Regions from separate parts of the Homo sapiens genome. Here region 2 is linked to region 1. Evidence: promoter capture Hi-C in 16 types of primary human blood cells and fetal thymus (Javierre and others, 2016). All regions are on one chromosome and are shown on one strand. The core of a region is centred on a gene start or on the middle of the fragment in contact, and the rest is flanking DNA. Distances in the headings are between cores, read along the strand shown. Region 1 holds the start of SMIM47 (small integral membrane protein 47). Region 2 holds the start of KLK1 (kallikrein 1).

What was found. The method cuts DNA at HindIII sites, captures the fragments that hold promoters and counts their contacts. A CHiCAGO score of 5 or more calls a contact.
Region 2: the fragment with the promoter of KLK1 here is called in contact with the fragment with the promoter of SMIM47 in region 1 in 2 of 17 cell types (activated CD4 T cells and neutrophils); the score reaches 6.6 in activated CD4 T cells.

Annotation. Positions count from the first base shown.
Region 1 is chr19:50,784,053-50,788,203 of GRCh38, reverse strand. SMIM47 (small integral membrane protein 47) reads left to right here and starts at 2,044. Exons shown (of 3, transcript NM_001384597.1): 1 at 2,044-2,114; 2 at 2,203-2,262; 3 at 2,381-2,476. The coding sequence starts at 2,100. The coding sequence ends at 2,392. LOC105372439 (a long non-coding RNA gene) reads left to right here. Exons shown (of 4, transcript XR_936026.3): 4 at 1-823. The HindIII fragment of the contact is 13,889 bases long and covers 1-4,151 here.
Region 2 is chr19:50,821,329-50,825,479 of GRCh38, reverse strand. KLK1 (kallikrein 1) reads left to right here and starts at 1,693. Exons shown (of 5, transcript NM_002257.4): 1 at 1,693-1,777; 2 at 3,609-3,768. The coding sequence starts at 1,732. KLK15 (kallikrein related peptidase 15) reads left to right here. Exons shown (of 6, transcript NM_017509.4): 6 at 1-191. The HindIII fragment of the contact is 16,614 bases long and covers 1-4,151 here.

The sequences.
Region 1 (4,151 bases), core at 795-3,294:
AGTGAGCCCTGATTCTGTCACTCCACTCCATCCTGGACGACAGAGTGAAACCTGATGTTTAAATGCAGTTTTTCATGTATGTACTTCTTACCAAAATGAGATCATACAGAACCTGCAATTTTGTAACCTGCGTCTTTCAGTTAACCTCCTCTTCTCCTTGGCAGTAGTGCTTTCGTCTTGTCTGATACCCATTCCCTATTCAAATGTCCCTCCGTTTCTCCCCAAAGAGACTTTGTCTTGTTTTGTTTTTTGAGACAGGATCTCACTCTGTCACACAGGCTGGTGTGCTGTGGTACGATCTCGGCTCACTGCAACCTCTGCCTCCTGGGTTCTGATGATTCTCGTGCCTGAGCCTCCTGAGTAGCTGGGACTATAGGTGCACACCACTGCACCTGGCTAATTTTTGTATTTTTAGTAGAGACAGGGTTTCACCATGTTGGCCAGGCTGGTCTCAAACTCCTGACCTCAGGTGATCCGCCCACCTCGGCCTCCACCCACAAAGAGCCTTTATAACTTGTTTTGTCCAAGCCAAAACCCGGTCCAGGATCACCCCTCAAAGCTGGTCTTGTGTCTCTTAACGGATTTTTTTCAAATATAGCAAGGCTACTTGCTTTTGTTTTGCACTGTGGCATGGATTTGTTGGAGAGACGGTGCCGTTTGCTCTGCAGAATGTGTTGCCTTCTGGAATGTTCTGGGTAGTGCCGTGAGGTACCGTGTTTACAATCAATTCTTGTTATTCATAGTAGCGATGTTGTATAACTGTGACCACTGAATCAGCAAATAAGGACCCATTGCTTCATTAATAAAAGTATATATTTTTCTATTTATTTTCTATTTATTTATTTATTTTTATTTATTATTATTATTTTGAGATGGAGTCTCGCTCTGTTGCCCAGGCTAGAGTGCAGTGGCACAATCTCGGCTCAATTTAACCTCCTCCGCCTGGGGTTCAAGTGTTGCTGGTGCCTCAGCCTCCCAAATAGCTGGGACTACAGGCGTGCACCACCATGCCCGGCTAATTTTTTTGTTTTTTTGTTTTTTAGTAGAGATGGAGTTTCGCCATGTTGGCCAGGCTGGTCTCAAACTCCTGACCTCAGGTGATCCTCCCGCCCCGGCCTCCCAAAGTGTTGGGAAAACAGGTGTGAGCCACCGGCACCTGGCCTATATTTATATATATTTAAAGAGATGGGGTCTTACAATGTTGCCCAGGCTGGCCTTGAACTCCTGGGCTCAAGCAATTCTACTGTCTCACTTAACCAAAGTGTTGGGATTACAAGCATGAGCCACTGCACCCAACCCTATATATATGTGTTTGTGTGTGTGTGTGTGTGTGTGTGTGTGTGTGTGTGTGTATACATATACACACACACACATATATTTCCCCAATAAGTGTTCACAGTTGTACAACATAACTACCAAAAATAGCGAGACTATATCTGCCACAAATAACGCAAATAGCTACCTGAGTAGCAGATTGTATAGTCCCCATTTTTGTGGTAGCGATAGATAGGTAAATAGGTATCTCACAAATGTATCATATGTATTTTATTTTATTTTTTCTTAGTTGTTAGTTGTGGAGACAGGATCTCACTCTTGCCCAGGCTGGAGTGCAGTGGCGTGATCTTGGCTCATGGCAGCCTCAACCCCCTGGGCTCAAGTGATCCTCCCATCTGGAGGAGGAAATTTTGCCTGGGCCTCCCTTACTGTTCTCCTGGCCTGCAGGCTCCTGTTTTGAGATATTTCTATACCCAGAACTGACCTGGTCCCTCCCCTGCTCTCAACCCTCTCATGGCTCCCCAGCACCCTCCGGGGCAAAACCCAAACACCTCAGTATGGTGTTCAGGGTTGAGACTCTCCAATCTCACACGTCCCGATGTCACATTCAGACACCACATGTGGCGGGCCACACCAGGGTCTGTATCTGCCCTATGCCCCTGCCTGTCCCCTCTACCAGAATGCCCTTTCCCCGTTGCCATGGCCACCATTCTGGTCTCTCCGACAACCCCCTCTCGGAGTTCCAGTGGCTTCTCCCCCCTCTGGCTCAGAGGCCCAGGAAAGAGAGAGAAGACCAACCAAGGGGTGGCTGGAGTCCCAAGGCCATGAACTTTCAGGAAGTGAGGAGGGGTCTGGCAGGGAAGGGAGGCCTGGGGCTGGGCAGAGGGCAGGGAGGGGAAGGGTCCTGACCTCTGATCTCCCCCCCAGAATGTGACCCTGGCCATGGCCTTGTTCACCATCCTGACCTCCATCTATTTCTTCAACAAGGTGAGCGGGAGAAGAGCGGAGGTGGGGGCTGAGTCTCTGTCTCCCTGGTCCAGTTCTGTCATCTTGGTCTCTCTTTCTCTCCCACATCTCTGTATATGTCCCTGTTTTCCTCTCTCAGGCTCAGCAGTGAGAAGACACAGGACCTCCCCGCACAAGAGCCCTGCCTCTCCCTCTGCCATCGCTCTGAGGCCAGATAAATGTAACTGAATCCGCACATCCTGCTCCGCCGACCCACTGCCCTTGCGCCCGGCCTCGGGCCTACACCACACCTGGGGCTCTGTGTTTCAGAAGGGAGTGGGGTGGGGGTCCGGACTCCAGGGTCTGAGGTAGGAGAGTGGTGAGGACCCACCCTCGCAGGTTTGAGGCTAGGAGCTGGGAATCTGCGCTGGGTTTTCAGGGATGAGTAGGAGTCTGTGGGGAAATTCCAAGAAGAGGAAGAACATTTCAACCTGGTGTAAGGGCACAGAGGGAAGAACAAGCAGGGCACATTGAGCACCCGGCACCAACACAGGCTGCTGTGTACTTCGGATTTGTTATTTCCCTTGATCCCGTGATTTCTTCTCCATCAGACAAAGGCGAAAATCTTTGTCCAATGGGCCCCAAAAAACCACAGCCAGGGCAGCCAGAGATCCAAAATGTGAATGCACTTTGTCAGCTGCAGTGGGTCTGTAGTTATCGTCATCATCTTCATCACTGTCATACTGTATCAACACATCTTCCTCTTTTTTCTTTTCTTTTTGAGATGAGATCTCACTCTATTGCCCAGGCTAGAGTGCAGTGGTATGATCATAGCTCACTGCAACCCTGAACTCCCAGGCTCAAGCAGTCCTCCTGCCTCAGCCTCCTGAGTAGCTGGGACTGTAGGTGTTCACCACCATGCCCAGCTAACTTTTTAATTTTTTTTAGAGACAGGGTCTCACTATGTCACCCAAGCTGGTCTCTAACTCCTGGCCTCAAGCAATCCTCCTACCTCAGCCTCCCAAAGTGTTGGAATTACAGGTGTGAGCCACTGTGCTCAGCCTCTTTTCTTAACAAACTCCTATTTAACCTTCAACACCCACCAGCAATGTCCCTTCCTATAAAAATGTGCAGACCCGCCCCCACAGGCAGTTCGCTAGCAGCCCCCTTGCTTAGCGCCCTTCCCCCACCCCCTGCCTCTACCTCCAGCATCCTCAGGTCAATGCCCTGGGGGACACTTCCACCTTCAATTGCATTTCACCTACCTTCTCATCTAGTCAAAAGCAATTTCATTTCAGCTCAATATCTGAAAAGCCAGCTTTGGAGTAGGGTTGACTGCACGTGCTAGGTTTTCCTGAAAAAGCCCAACAAATTTCCTTCCATCCCTCCCTTCCTTCCTTCCTTCCTTCCTTCCTTCCTTCCTTCCTTCTTCCCAGAGTTTTGCTCTTGTTGCCCAGGCTGGAGTGCAACAGTGCAATCTCAGCTCACTGCAACCTCCACCTCCTGGGTTCAAGCAATTTTCCTGCCTCAGCCTCCCGAGTAGCTGGGATTACAGGCATGCGCCACCACGCCTGGCTAATTTTGTATTTTTAGTAGAGATGGGGTTTCTCCATGTTGGTCAGGCTGGTCTCGAACTCCCAACGTCAGGTGATCCACCTGCCCCAGCCTCCCAAAGTACTGGGATTACAGGCATGAGCCACTGTGCCCGGCCTCACCAATTTCTTTTTATTTTATTGTATTTTATTTGAGATGGAGTCTCGCTCTGTTAAACTCAGGCTGGAGTGCACTAGCGCGATCTCGGCCCACTGCAACCTCCACCTCCCAGGTTCAAGCAATTATCCTACCTCAGCCTCCCAAGTAGCTGGGACTATAGGCACCCGCCACCACGCCTGGCTAAGTTTTGCATTTTTTGTAGAGACAGGGTTTCATTA
Region 2 (4,151 bases), core at 444-2,943, 38 kb before region 1:
GCTTGAAGCAGGGCTCCATTCATTCAACACACATGACCACCCGTGTGATCTTGAACAAGAGGCCCAATCTCACTTCGCCTTGGTTTCCTTATCTGTAAAATGAGACCATCTTATTGCTGACTTCAAAGGGCTGTTGTGAGGATTAAATGAGATGATTCGTCTGAACTGATTAAAATCGTGTCTGGCACTGAGTAAATACCCTCTATCTCTGGATCCCAGTTAAAGGACCTAACAGACACTAGATTACCAAGAATGGCTTTTTCTTTAAGGTTTAGTTCTGGGCCGGGCATGGTGGCTCACACCTGTAATCCCAGCACTTTGGGAGGCCAAGGCGGGCGGCTCACTTGAGGTCAGGAGTGCAAGACCAGCCTGGCCAACATGGTGAAACCCCATCTCTACTAAAAATACTAAAAAAATTTAGCCGGGCGTGGTGGCACACGACTGTAATCCTAGCTACTTGGGAGGGTGATGTGGGAGGATCGCTTGAACTTAGGAGGCAGGAGTTGCAGTGAGCCGAGATCGCGCCACTGCACTCCAGCCTGGTGACAGAGCAAGACTCCATCTCAGAAAAAAAAAAAAAAAAAAAAAGATTTAGTTCTGGGCTTCCTGGTAGCCATGGCAAAAAGGCAAATACTGTCCTTTCCTTAGCCAGGTCCCTGATATACAGCAGAGGCTGGAACTCTGAGCTGCTTTGATTTTACCAAAAAGCCAAGACAACCTGTTGGAAGCCTATGGGTTTACCATTGAGGCTGCAGGAATCTAGTTCCTAATTATCTTCAGAGACCACAAAATGTGATGTTCAAGGTCGCTGAATGTTGAAGTACATGAACCTGGCTCGTGAGACCTAAATATTGTACTGGTGGTGGGGGGGAAGGGTCATTGGAATCTGTGGTTAGCCTGATCTTGACCTGGGAGGGAAGGTTGTCCAGATCTCTGGGACTTTGGAGGACAGGACGTTGAGCACCCATAACTGGGAGCAAGAAGTGGGAGGCTCATTGAGACCCCAGCATTGTTTGGGAGGGACACTGGATTTTGTAATGCTAAAGAACTTACCCTGGGAGACCCCTGAAACTTCACATTCCTGGATCTGGAGGCACTAGGAATGTGGTGATGTGTACCCCAAAATTTTATTATGAAAGGAACAGTAGCTTTGGGGACCTAGGTCCTGGGTCTGGGAGTGCAAGAACCAGGGCATTCTGAAGGCCAAGGCTTATATTTCAGGGGGAACTGGCAGCTGAGATGCTAGTATCTTGGCTCCGAGTGGTGCAGGGAATCAGAGCCCTAACTGCTGGTGTTTGAGGGCACCAGGTCTGGGGGTGCAGGGCCTTAATTGAGACTGAGGTATATGGGGCTTTGTACCAGGGGTCACTGATTCCTCCGTCTTCCTGTTTCTGCTTCCCCTCAGTCCCCCCTTGCCTCACTGGCTGCTCCCCAGAGCAAAGCCCCAGAGCCACAGGCCCTGCCCCACCTGGCTTCAACCCCAGGAATGCGTCCAGCGTGATCCAGGGCCTGCAGAACAGGTGCTGGTTCTCCCTCCCCGTCTACAGCTCTGGGGATCGGAGGGGGGGGGGGCAATTGTCCAGCCCCCAGGCAACAGGGGAAGGGCCTTGGCCAACATCTGGGTGCCAGCAGGGCAGGGGTGGGGCTCTGAGGGGATAAGGGCTTTTAAAAGCCTCCCCAGGGAGGTTCCCCAGTTCCTCCACCTGCTGGCCCCTGGACACCTCTGTCACCATGTGGTTCCTGGTTCTGTGCCTCGCCCTGTCCCTGGGGGGGACTGGTGAGACAGTGGGGGGATGTGGGAGGGGGAACGGGCCCTGATTCTCTTGCTGGCCTCACATCCCCCCCCGATAAGACCTTCCCCTCCAACACCCCACCCTCATCCCTCTGGCCCACAGTCTATCCTAGTCCGGGGTGCCCCGGCTCTTATCTATCTTGCGCGGCCCCACCCTAAACTTCCACCCCCGCTCCTCCATGTTGTCATAGTGCTCACTCCCACACCAGATTCCTGCTCCTCCCAGGAAGCCTCAGTACTTTCTCCTCTTCCCTAGCCAACGCCCTGTCCCACCGCTTTACCAAAGGGGCAGATTCTGGGCCATCTCTGTCTCTCTCTGGAGGACCCCAACCCTCCCATGGGCTTCCCCCACCCCACAGGACTCTGATCATCCCCTCCTGCCCCCTAGTTCCCTGCGGCCACCTATTTGGCTCCTGAGTCTACAAATCCCACCACACTCCAGTGACTTTTTCCATCCAGCTGTCCGCTCTCAACTGTGTCCTCCAGACCCTGACATCTGGTCTCCCCAGTCCTTCCAGGGTCCCCCAAATTTCACCAGAAAACCCTGCTTCCCAAACTGGCATGTGGGATCCCCCATCTGGTATGGGGGGGGGTCTGCAAATGTCCCTTCCCACCCAGCACCCCCAGCTCTCCCAGGAAAAACACCACACCCTCCCACCACATGCTCCTTTCCTTGGGGAAGTTCCATCCCGCCCCAGGCCCCAGCCCTTCTCTGCCTGAATTGTTCCTACACAGCTCTGGTTTTCTGGAACCCCACCCCAAGGATCCTGAATGCCTTCTCAGCCAGCGCTTCTGCCCTGGCCTCCCCCAAGTCAGTATGTGATTCTACAACCTCACGTCAAGTGGGTCCTGCATTGCATTCCCACAGCTGCTTGGCGCCTGTTCTCACCACTTCTCCAATCCTCTTCCTAGGATTGCCTCCAAGAGGACCCCATATCCTTCCAGTACCCTCAGACCATGAACCCCATCCCCATGAGAAACGAAGATCCCATCCTTCACCCTGTCCGAGAAGGACTGCCACTCACGCCTCCCTCCTCCTGAGCCCCGTCCCAGTCCTGACCGCAACTGTGTTCTCAGGGCCCCAACCTCCCCTCAGATTGCCATTCCTGGTTCACAGGAAGGACCCCAAAACCTCTCGGAAGCCCACCTCTAGCCTTAACCATAGCCCTTTCTTTTACCCTTTAACCAGGAAGCCCTGAAATCTAACTGTCCCAGCCAAGCTGGCCCCTTCCAACCCCAATGTAGGGACCCCAAGTCACCCCCAAACTCTTCAGTCCAGATGCTCTTCTTTACCTCTCAGACCTGGTTCCCTAAAGCTGCATCCTTTCCTGAACCTCAAAAGCCCAACCCAGGTCCTGTTTCCCTAGCCTAGGAGCCCCTTAGCCCTCCAGATTCTTCCTCAGTGAGCCTCTGATCCTGTCCCACCCTTGGCGCCTTGATCCCTGGTTTCCAGAATCCCTTTCCACTCCCCTAACCCACCACCTCCCATCCCCCAGCCCCAGACCCCAAATGACCTGACGCCCAGATGCAGTGTCTGCTCCAGACACTGTCTCCTGTCTCCTACCCTGATCCCTGGAGGCTGCTCTACTGTCAGAGCACAAAATCTCCCCACCAGGTCCAGCCACCACTCCAAAAGCCCAGGGAACAGTCCAGAGTCCCACCCCTTCCCAACACCCCTTGCCCATGTCCCCAACCTCCAGCCCTGGTCCTCTACCCGCAATGTCCCTTCAGACCCACAGCCCAGCTCCCTCTCCTAGCCTTGTCCCTGGCCTCTCCTGCCAACCCTGCCCTTCCTGACCCAGCACCGCCTCTGCAGGTGCTGCGCCCCCGATTCAGTCCCGGATTGTGGGAGGCTGGGAGTGTGAGCAGCATTCCCAGCCCTGGCAGGCGGCTCTGTACCATTTCAGCACTTTCCAGTGTGGGGGCATCCTGGTGCACCGCCAGTGGGTGCTCACAGCTGCTCATTGCATCAGCGAGTGAGTAGGGGCCTGGGGTCTGGGAGGAGGGCATCTATGCTGCCACAGGATTGACAGGCCAGTGGCATTCCCCTTGGATAACCTCAGGCAAGACTGGGGGGCTGAGGCAGAGAGGAAGGCTCTGGCGCAGGTCGCCTGGCAGGGCAGAGCTGGGCTGGACACCCCTCTCCAAGGCTGCCTGGGTCTCTTGGGATCTGGTTCTGCTTGTGTCTCTGTGTGACTGTGTTCTGGTCTCTGTCTTCCTCTCTCTCCTCTGTCTCCTTGTCTCTGCATCTCCCCTGTCTCTGTCTGTCTCTGAGTCTCTCTGCGGCATCTCTGTCACTGTGTCTCACCCTCCATCTCTCTACCCATCTCTCTCTCTCTGGGTCTCTACCTCACCGCTC